Linked DNA regions of Homo sapiens: region 1 is linked to region 2. The links are contacts of gene promoters, found by promoter capture Hi-C in blood cells and fetal thymus (Javierre and others, 2016). All regions are on one chromosome and are shown on one strand. The core of a region is centred on a gene start or on the middle of the fragment in contact, and the rest is flanking DNA. Distances in the headings are between cores, read along the strand shown.

The links. The method cuts DNA at HindIII sites, captures the fragments that hold promoters and counts their contacts. A CHiCAGO score of 5 or more calls a contact.
Region 1: a fragment that was not itself captured here is called in contact with the fragment with the promoter of RHOF in region 2 in 2 of 17 cell types (naive CD8 T cells and activated CD4 T cells); the score reaches 5.7 in naive CD8 T cells.

Annotation. Positions count from the first base shown.
Region 1 is chr12:121,551,161-121,556,698 of GRCh38, forward strand. The region is part of intron 4 of KDM2B (lysine demethylase 2B); the gene reads right to left. Among named protein-coding and RNA genes, the nearest start is that of KDM2B-DT, 27 kb to the right of the region's middle. The HindIII fragment of the contact is 5,533 bases long and covers 1-5,306 here.
Region 2 is chr12:121,792,369-121,797,840 of GRCh38, forward strand. RHOF (ras homolog family member F, filopodia associated) reads right to left here and starts at 1,320. Exons shown (of 5, transcript NM_019034.3): 1 at 1,128-1,320; 2 at 784-871. The coding sequence starts at 1,265. It overlaps LINC01089 (long intergenic non-protein coding RNA 1089), which reads right to left. Exons shown (of 4, transcript NR_152740.1): 4 at 2,899-3,874. It also overlaps a transcript of SETD1B not described here. RefSeq lists enhancers at 391-1,222, 1,228-1,768, 1,715-1,764, 2,309-2,849, 3,145-3,314 and a silencer at 695-1,234. The HindIII fragment of the contact is 6,952 bases long and covers 1-3,507 here.

The sequences.
Region 1 (5,538 bases), core at 1,290-3,789, 240 kb before region 2:
CTGCCCTCTAACAGGCCCGTGGTCAATATTTGTTGAATAAATAAACATAGCCTTTCATGTGGTCGGAACTGAAAAATAAAAGTAACTCTGTGTAATCCCAGCACTTAGAAAAGCAGAGGTGGGAGGATGGTGCTTGAGCCTGGGAGTTTGAGACCAGCCTGGGGAACACAGCAAGATTCCATTCTTTTTTTTTTTTTTTTTTTGAGACAGGGTCTCGCTCTGTCACCCAGGCTGGAGAGCAATGGCACGATCGTGGCTCACTGCAGCCTCAACCTCCCTGGCTCGAGGGATCCTCCAGCCTCAGCCTCCTGAATAGCTGGGACTACAGGGCGGCACCACCACATCCAACCAGGTTTTTATTTTTTGTAGAGACAGGGTTTTGGTTTTCTTTGTTTGGTTGGTTGGTTTTTGAGACAAAGTCTCGCTCTGTCGCCCAGGTTGGAGTATAGTGGCACAATCTCAGCTTACTGCAACCTCCACCTGCGGGGTTCAAGTGATTCTCCTGCCTCAGCCTCCCGAGCAGCTGGAATTAAGGGCGTGCACCACCGCACCCGGCTCTTTTTCGTATTTTTAGTAGAGATGGAGTTTCGCCATATTGGCCAGGCTGGTCTTGAACTCCTGACCTCAAGTGATCCGCCCGCCTCAGCCTCCCAAAGTGCTGGGATTACAGGTGTGAGCCACCGCGCCCAGCATGACAGGGTTTCATTAAGTTGCCCAGGCTGGGAGACCACATTCTCCACAAAAAGGAAACAAAAAAAGAAAGTAACACCTTAAGTATGTAAGAGAACTTGGGTATTTCTATCTTTTGGGTTCAAGATCTAAATTTCACAGCAACCTGGAAAAGCAAGGTGAGACAGTCTGTTTTACAAATGGGGAGACCAAGGCCCAGAGACACAGCAACTGGCTCAAGCTCCCCAGAGTAGACTCTTACTACCAATTACAACCATTACCATTTACTATGTGTGTCAGCACAGGCGGGTTCTCTACATATATTATCTTGTGTTAGGTTCATCGTGGTCACAGCTCTGTGAAGCAGAACTTCAATTACACCCATTTAATGGAGGAGAAGCTGAGACTTGGACAACTAACTCGCCCAGGAATGCCCAATTCGTGAGTGGCAGAGTGGTATTTGAATCCAATTCATTCTAATGCCTAAGCCCAGGTTCCTCTCCCATCCCCCGAATACTGAATCTTGATCGTATGCTAAGGTTGAAACATGACCCCAGACCTGGCCAAGTGCAGTGGCTCATGCCTGTAATCCCAGCACTTTTGGAGGCCGAGATGGGTGGATCACCTGAGGTCAGGAGTTCAAGACCAGCCTGGCCAACATGGCAAAACCCTATCTCTACTAAAAATACAAAAATTAGCCAAGTATGGTGGCACACGTCTGTAATCCCAGCTACTTGGGAGGCTGAGGTAGGAGAATTGCTTGAACCCAGGAGGTGGAGGTTGCAGTGAGCTGAGGTCGTGCCATTGCACTCTAGCCTGGGTGACATGGTGAGACTCTGTCTTAATTAAAAAAAAAAAAAAAAAAGATTCCAGACCACAGCAGTGGCCAGGTCCCTCCCCATGGACCCTAGGAAGCAGTGGATCCAGGGGAAAGCAGCTTTTGTTTTGGCGTCTGGAGTGCAGATCCACCAGGGGGCATCCCCGTTCTTCGCTGGATATTCTGGCCTTGATCTTGGCAAGGCTAGCTCCTTCCTTACCCAGGTGCCTGGAATACGTGGGCGCCACTCAGATTTTCCAGGAGGCCCACCTGGCAGAAACCCTGCTGTCAGAACCCCAGTACCAGCCGGGCACGGTGGCTCACGCCTGTAATCCCAGCACTTTGGGAGGCTGAGGCGGGCAGATCATGAGGTCAGGAGATTGAGACCATCTTGGCTAACACGGTGAAACCCCGAGAATACTAAAAATACAAAAAATCCGCCGGGTGTGGTGGCGGGCGCCTGTAGTCCCAGCTACTTGGGAGGCTGAGTCAGGAGAATGGCGTGAACCCGGGAGGCGGGGTTGCAGCGAGCCGAGATCGCGCCACTGCACTACAGCCTGGGCGACAGAGCAAGACTCTGTCTCAAAAAAAAAAAAGAAAGAAAGAACCCCGGTACCCTCCCCACTCTCGCTCTCTGGCCAGCCTCCCACCTCCACCCACTTCTCCTCCCTAATCTTGCTCAAGGTCATGTCTGCAAAGCTCCCTGTGCAAAGGAGTCTGCTGGGCAGGTAGCAAATAGGATAAAGAGCACTAAAATCACGAACCCAGAGTCCTGCAAGTCAGCACTGAAGGCCAAGCTCAGCTACCCCTACCCACACACTGTTAAAATTTAGAGGGTTCGGTTCCCAGCGGAGCCTCCAGCCTGTGCCTCGGGCTCTTGGCTTCTCTGGGAATCAGTTTCTTCTTCATCTATAACATGGGGAACAAATAGCCAGCCCAGGAGCTGTCCTGAGACATAACTGAGTTCATGCACTTCACACTCACTTGGAGCACCTACAGGTAGGTAGCGTTACCGAGTCGGTCAGTTTCATCTGTAACTAGAGGTGGAGAAGGTGAGGAGCTGGGAAGTTTAGGGACTTGCCCAGCATCACAGCCAGTTAAATCGTTGCTGGCCAGTCCCAGTGAACAGACTGCTTAGGACCCTACAACATATTCAAGATGCAAATGGGTGTGGGGTTCTTCTGGGGAATGATGAAAAAGTTCTAAAATGGACTTTCATAATGGTTGCACAGCTCTGTGAATATACTGAAAACAAGTGAATTGTGGCCGGCCTTGGTGGCTGGTGGCTCACACCTGTAATCCCAACAGTTTGGGAGACAGAGCTGGAAGGAGCGCTGGGCCCTAGAAGTTTGAGATCAGCCTGGGTAATATAGTGACACCCCAGCTCCACACACACACACACACACACACACACACACACACACACACACACACACACAAATTGGCCAAGCATGGTGACCCACACCGGTGGTCCCAGCTACTCTGAAGGCTGAAGTGGGAGGACTGCTTGAGCGTCAGGAGGTTGAGGCTCCAGTGAGCCATGATCGTGCCACTGCACTCCAGCTTGGGCAACAGAGCCAGATCCTGTCTCAAAAAAAAAAAAAGTGGGGTGAAATGAATTGTATGGTCTGTGACTTATATTTCAATGAAACTTTTTACTTTTTTAAAATGGAGAGTCTCAGAGATGGCAAGTAATCTGGGAGTGTTTCCAAATAAATGTATACCTTGTATATATCATGATACTTGCCCTTTGTAACATACTTTTTTTTTTTTTTGAGACAAAGTCTCTCTTTTGTCCCCCAGGCTGGAGTGCGATGGCGATGGCGCGATCTCGGCTCACTGCAACCTCTGCCTCCCAGGTTCAAGCGATTCTCCTGCCTCAGCCCCCCGAGTAGCTGGGATTACAGGCGCCTGCCACCACGCCCAGCTAATTTTTGTATTTTCAGTAGAGACGGGGTTTTACCATGTTGTCCAGGCTGGTCTAGAACTCCTGACCTCAGGTGATCCACCTGCCTCAGCCTCCCAAAGTGCTGGGATTACAGGCGTGAGCCACCGCACCCGGCCTGTAACATACTTTAAATTAACACTTTTATACTCTCATTTAATCCCAGGTATATATACCTCTCTCACATGCACACAGGTATTAATCCACAAGTTATGATTTTCAGTCTTAGTCCAAATGTGGACCAGAAAAAACAAAAGAACATCTGCATCTGGGATTCATGCAGCACTCAAATATTTGATGAATGCAAGAGTAGGCTGAGTGTGGTGACTCACACCTGTAACCCCAACACTTTGGGAAGCTGAAGCAGGAGGATCACTTAAGCCCAGGAGTTCAAGACCAGCCTGGATAACATGTCAAGACCCCATCTCTACAAAAAATTTAAAAATTATCTGTGCATGTTGGCAGACACCAGTATTCCCAGCTACTTGGGAGGATCACTTGAGCCTGGAAGGCAGAGGCTACAGTGAGCAATGGCTGTGCCACTGCACTCCAGCCTAGGTGACAGAGTGAGACTCTATCTTAAAAAATAAAAAATTTTAAAAAACAGTAGATAGCAATCCTATTTTATAAAAAATGGATACCAATTTAAAATAATGTTTAATCATATCATTTAGTTATGAGGATATAGTAATTTACAAAATTATACCTTAAGACCCTGAAAATGTTATTTATTTTGCAAGTGTCAAAGTATCAAAAAAGAAAGAATAACTAGTCTGGGGTAATTTTATTTTTTTCTTTTGAGACAGAGTCTCGCTCTGTCTCCCAGGCTAGAGTGCAGTGGCACGATCTCAGCACACTGCAACCTCCACCTCCCTGGTTCAAGTAATTCTTGTGCCTAAACCACCAAAGTAGCTGGGATTACAGGCGTGGGCCACCATACCCGGCTAATATTTGTATTTTTTGTAGGGACGGGGTTTCGCCATATTGCCCAGGCTGGTGTCAAACTCCTGGGCTCAAGTCATCTGCCCACCTAGGCCTCCCAAAATGTCTGAGATTATAGGCGTGAGCCACCACACCTGGCCAAAATTTTTTATAAGAATATAAATAAGTAAGTGATATAGTTTGGATATTTTTCCCCCCCAAATCTCAAATCTCATGTTGAAACATGAATATCTCTCAAATATCTCCAATGTTAGAGGTAGGAATTGGTGTGTGGTGTTTGGGACGTGAGGGTGGATCCTTCACGAATGCCTTGGTACCCTCCTTGCATAAAGAGTGAATTCCCACTCTATTAGTTCCCATGAGACTGAATTGGGTTTTTGTTTTGTTTTTTTTGTTTTTTGTTTTTTTTTTGAGACGGAGTCTCACTCTCTCACCTACACTGGAGTACAGTGGCACGATCTCGGCTCACTGCAACCTCTGCCTCCCAAGTTCAAGAGATCCTCCTGCCTCAGCCTCCCGAGTAGCTGGGACTACAAGAACGCACCACCACGCCTGGCTAATTTTTTGTATTTTAGTAGAGATGGGGTTTCACCATGTTGGCCAGGCTGGTCTTGAACTCCTGACATTGTGATCTGCCCTCCTCAGCCTCCCAAAATGCTGGGATTACAGGGGTGAGCCACTGCACTCGGCCTGTTTTTTGTTTTTTGAGACAAAGCCTCACTCTGCTCATTAGGCTGGAGTGCAGTGGCTTGAACATGGCTCACTGTAGCCTCAAACTCCTGGGCTCAAGCGATCCTCCTACCTCAGCCTCCCAAATAGCTGGGGCTACAGGCTGGATTATTTAGAAGCATTTGGCACCTCCCTCCTCTCTCTCTTGCTCCCTCTGTGGCTATGTGACACACCAGCTCACCCTCCCCTTCCATCATGACTGGAAGCTTCCTGAAGTCCTCACCAGAAGCAGATGCTGGCTCCATGCTTCCTGTACAGCCTGCAGAGCTGAATCAAATAAACCTTTCTTTATAAATAATCCAACCCAGCTGGGCACCATGGCTCAAGCCTGTAATCCCAGCACTTTGGGAGGCCGAGGCAAGTGGATCACTTGAGGTCAAGAGTTTGAGACTAACCTGGACAACATGGTGAAACCCTGTCTCTACTAAAAATACAA
Region 2 (5,472 bases), core at 70-2,569:
TCCCACTGACTGTTTCTCCTGTCCCCACCCCTCACAACACCGACTCCCAAGCAATTGCACATAAATCCGTAAACCACCCGTGGGGGCCTGCAGGTGGCAGGCAGAGCCTGGTGTGGGGCCCCTGCCCCCAGTGCTCTGTTCCTTCCTCAGTTCATTTTCTACACTGTCTGGTTTTGTCCCAGGGAACTAGGAAAGCACAGAAGTAATTGTAGCCACGCAATTCCAGAACCACCAACTGCAAGCCGTGGAATCCTGGGAGCTGCAGACACAGAACTCGCATCCACAGGACCCCAGAGCCTCAGGCTGCAGAGCGCAGGCCACAGAGCCCTGGAGCCACAGGCTGATCTGCAGCCGGGAGCATCCCAGAACCACAGGACCCAGACACACAGCCCAGGCAATCCGAGCACCAAGGGACTCAAATCTGCAGCTCACAGAGTCTGCAGAGACCACAGCAGGTAGCGCAGCAATCCTGGAACCATGGGAGGCCCAAGAGCAGCCCACTGCTTTCTAGAACCACAGGAGAGGAACGAGCTGTGGGCTCTCAGCACAGAGCTGGGAGGGTGGCCCCAGAGTTCACCTCCTCCTCCAAACACCTTCCACTTACGTATAGGGCTTGGCCTCTAGGGCCCCGCAGCCAGCGCCCCTGAGCGGCCTCCAGGAGTGAAGAGCCGGCCAAGGCCCTGCCAAGGCTGCAGGGCGGGGACACCCAGTGGGGGACGCCCGGGAGGGGAAACCCTTCGGGCGGGCGGACCCTCGGGCCCCCCGGCGCGCAGGCGCACTCACCGGCCGTGTCGTAGAGGTTCAGGGTCACCTCCTTGCTGCCAACGGTCACGCTGGCCGTGTACTTCTCGAACACCGATGGGGCGTAGTGCTGCGGGAGAGGGGGTCGGGTTGGTCCTTAGTGGGGCCGGCGGGGGCCAAAGTTCCAGCTGAATCCACTGTCCACCCCCCTCACTCGTCCCGGATCAGCCCCCCCTCACCCCGCTGGGCTCTGGAATTCCCGAGGGGGCGCCCCGGGGTGGCGGCCGCCTGTCCGTGCTCGGGACGCTGGGGACTGAGGGTCGGGGCTCTGGGCTCAGGGTAAGGGGCGTCCCTCGCCCCCACCCCAGCCCCGCTGCGGGCCTCACCTCGGGGAAGGAGCCCTGGCTGTACACCATGAGCAGCGAGGTCTTGCCGCAGCCGCCGTCGCCCACGATCACGATCTTCAGCTCCTTCCTGCCCGGACCGGGGGCGGCGGTCTGGGCCAGGGCCCCGGGGGCATCCATTGCCCGGAGCCCGCAGCACTGGCGGCGGCGCGCCGGGCACTAGCGGAGCCAAGAGGTCGGGGGCGGGGCGGGGCCGGAACCAGCCCCGCCCACTCGGAGCAGCGCCGCCTCCGCCAGGCAGCCTCCCGGCCGACCTCCCAGCCTCAGTTTCCTTTCTGCTAAGGTCTCAGCCCTGGGTGTGGGTATTCAGCTCTCAGTCCCAGGGATACTGCAGCACCGGAAAAACGGGGCTCAGCTGCGAGCAAAGCTCCCACCCCCAACCCACCGCCACCCTCCGCGCGTCACGTCGCGCCCCTCGCCGGCGAGACCCGATCGTGGCTGCCCAGCGACTCCAGGTGCCCCTGATTAGCAGGCTCCGCCTTCGGCAGGGACCCTCTGATTGGCTGGCGCGGCCAGACAGGGTCTCCCGGATTGGCTGGCTGTGCCTCCGCACCGGGTTCGAGAAGCCCCCGGCCTCCAGCTCCGGGAAGAGCCCCTCAACTTTGCACTGCCCCAGCGGTGTGGCTTGGCACATGTCCGCCTCTGGCCTCAGCTTCCCCACAGGAGGTAGCGGCGGTGGCACCAGGGAAGATGCTGACGCGAGAGTCATGTCTGCCCACCTCGCCTGGGCCAGGGACGCCAGCGTGCACGCGGGTTCGGGGTGAGGGACTGGGCTCCGCTTACCCGCACCCCGACCCTGGGCTGCAGGGTGGACGTCTGACGCCCTCTGCCGGGCAATCGCCTCGGCGCCGGCCGCTCCGGGCGCAGGTTGGCCCGAAACCACTAGGGGCGGCCGCCTCCTTCCGGCAGGAGCCAGAGGCGTGAACCACGCAAGACGTCGTCAGGGAGGGGCAGGTTGGAGTAGCTCTAGTTGAAGTCAACTTGGTCCCTCTCCTGGAGCTTTGGAGACTGATAACCCCACACCCACCAAGAAATGTAAGAAAATGCGTTTCCTTGCCAGCAGCCACATGTCCTTCATCCCAGGAATCCCCCCAACTCTCCCATCCCCTGATCAAAACAGCTTATTTGTTGAGCACTTACTGTAGGCAGTGCTATCAGGGCTGCTGGCTGAATTACCCGTAACCCCCACCCCTCCTCTTACTCCTCACCCTGGGCGGGCTGACTGCCCTCTGCACCACCCAGATGAGTCGACAGGGTGGCAGAGGGACCCCCCCCTGGAGCCGGTCCACGGCAGACAGGCACGAGAGCATGGCCGAGAGTGGGATCCTACCAGCTGGGGTAGGAAGAGCCCATTTCTAACAAAACCCCCAACAGCAGCATGGTTGGGGGCAAGTGGCCTTCGTAGTTTCCTCAGATAGGGGCTGGCAGGACTCAGGATCTTTTTGCTGGCGACCCCACCCCGAAGACTCCCAGTTTTCAAGGTCTCGGCAAGGGTCATGTAAACCTCACTTCGTGGAGGAAAACCGCCAACCTGGCAGTTCCATGGTCAAGGTTCTCACAGTGCAAGCAAGGCACGGTCTGACCACCAGAGGGCAGCAGCGACCGCCCACAGAATCCCAAGACCACAGCAGAGCTGGGAAGGGGAGGCCGGGGAGGCACCCCAGGTTCTCAGTGGACGCCCTCTTCAGGCACTGGGCAAAGGGTAATCTCCTGGGTCAAGCACCCCCTAGACAAATGCACAGCAACTCATCCATTCCTTTTTTGCAACACGTTTATTGAGAGGCAGTTGTGCTCCAGCCTTCCAGGAGGTCACAGTCTTAGGGGAAGCAGTGCAATGGAGGTTGGAAGCAGGGGAACCCTTTACTGAAGGCTGAGCGCTGGCTGGCACACTAGGCCTGGCAGCACTGGAGGGCAGGCAGGGAAAGTAGGGTGGGTAACCCAGCCTGGCAAATGCACGGCAGCTAGAAAACCTCTTCAGGTTCTGGGGTGGCTGGGCCATGAGAGGGGAGGCCAGGCAGGGCTGTCAAGGTAACCGGGGTCAGATCATGGAGTTGCCTGCCAGGCTCCACAGGAGTGGGGGACAGAAGCAGAGCAACCCAGCTACCAGCCGGGCCCTGAGCTCCCTCAGGGTGACCAGGGAGGAGCTGTGACTGGCTGGGGAGGCAGGGCTGGGGCCGAGGTTCCCCAGGACGACAGGAGGGAGCCAAGGCACTCTAAGAGGTGGAAGAAGAGGACCAGAAGCTGGTGAGTGCATCACTGGAGCCCATAGGAGGGCTCCTGACTGTCCTCAAAAGCCTCAGACCTCAGTGTCCACTTTCTCCATCCAAGAAATGGGGCTGTGATCTCTGCTTATGACAGCACAAGCTTGCACAGAAGTGGAGGCGGGAAATAAGCACAAGTGTGCCTTCCCAGCCCGGCCTGGGTCCAGGCAGAACAGCTGATACTGGCCCCAGTCTGCCCACCCACCCCTGCTGGCCAGGAGGCTGGCAGAACCCCAGCCCCACCTGCCTGGAGCGCGTTTGATTTGGACTCGACTGTTGTGGTGATGGAGGGGGGCTGGATCTGTAGCTAAAAATACCTCGGAGCCAAGCCAGCTGCTCAGAGCTTCCTCGGAGGCTGGGCCGCGCTGGGCCCACTGAGGAACTGGGCATGCCCACCCAGGAGGTAGCTCCCTTACCTGCTAGAGGTTGAGGGCCTGAGTCACTCCCCCTTCCAGTCACCAGGAATTCCTGGAGAGTTTGAGAAAGCAAGAAAGATTCTTTAAGCTGGTTCCTGACACAACAGCTGTTAGGCCACTGAAGCCTGGGGGAGCGGCCGGGTGGCATTTGTGGGGTCAGCTCATCGGTGTCCACACAGGGGCCTATGCCATAGTGCGGCCAACAGGGAAACTGAGCCCTGGAGAGTTGCAGGGGCCCAGCCACTGCTGTGTTGTCAGAGCAAAGTCCAGCCAGCCCCAGTGAGGCTGGAGGCAACGCTGTGGCACCCACTTCCCTGGATGCCTGAGAACCCTGCAGAGGGGCCACCCACATGAGGCAGAAGACACTCAGCCTTCAGGGATGAAGCTACTCCCTGAGGTCCCAGGGACGGGAGCTGGCCTGGCAAATACATCTACCCTGCCTGAGCAGTCCCCAGGCCTTGGCTGCCCATGAGCACTCGGGGACAGGCCAGAGACAAGGCCACTCCTTGAGTGCTAAAAGTTCCCGTCACAAAAGCCAGACTCAGCAACAGCTCAAAACATTATTGTCCGGCCAGGCGCGGTGGCTCATGCCTGTAATCCCAGCACTTTGGGAGGCCGAGGTGGGCGGATCACCTGAGGTCAGTTTGAGACCAGCCTGACCAACATGGAGAAACCCTGTCTCTACTAAAAATACAAAATTATCCGGGCGTGGTGGCACATGCCTGTAATCCCAGCTACTCGGAGGCTGAGGCAGGAGAATCGCTTGAACCCTGGAGGCGGAGGTTGCGGTGAGCCCAGATCACACCATTGCCTGGGCAACAAGAGCGAAACTCTGTCTCAAAAAAAAAAAAAAAAAAATTATTGCTGGACCTGCTCCTCCCAGCGCTCAGGGGCAGGAGCTTGCTGGAAGTCACATGCCAGCTACAGATGCACTGGGCCAGACGACCTGAGATGGTGGTGCCACCTCACTGCACAGCCCAGGCAGAGGCTGTGTCTCCACCCAGAGGGTCCGAAAGGTCATGTTCCACGCTAGGGCTCCGGGCGGAGAGGCCGGAAGAGGCGGGGATGCCGGCGACTCAGTAGTAAGGCAAGTCCTGCCACCTCCTGGCCGGCCCTTCCGCTGGCGTGGCCCTCTCTCTGCAAGCCCTGGGGCCCAGCGCCAGCAGCGGCCCCGCCCCGCGTTCGCTGGGTGACCGGTGGGCGGGGCGCCCTCGAGGGACCAGCAGGAACAGCAGCAGGAGGACAAACTGCCTCACCCTCCCTGCCCCAAGAGGTGATGGTGGGGGGACAAAGAAAGAAGAGGGACCAAAGCAGAGAGAGAGGGGTACAGTCCAGCCAGGTGGGTCCCGACACCGTGCCGAGAACCACATCCAGACCACAGCTGAGCACCCAACAGCTCACTGATTGGATCCAGGGAGGGGAGAAACTGGCTGGAGCCCTCCAGGGTGCAGCTGGGAGGGAGACGTACATCAATTACTTAATTATCCAAAGCAGGTGGGGAGTAAAGACCCCACCCGGAGAGCAACGAAGACTCTAAAGGGAGGCGCCACACCCTCGGGCGGCAGAGGGTAACGTGAGAGCAACGGGGTTCAATGGCAGAGCCAAATTTAAAACAGGTTTCAGGGAGTATAGAAGGAGGAGGCTTTTGGG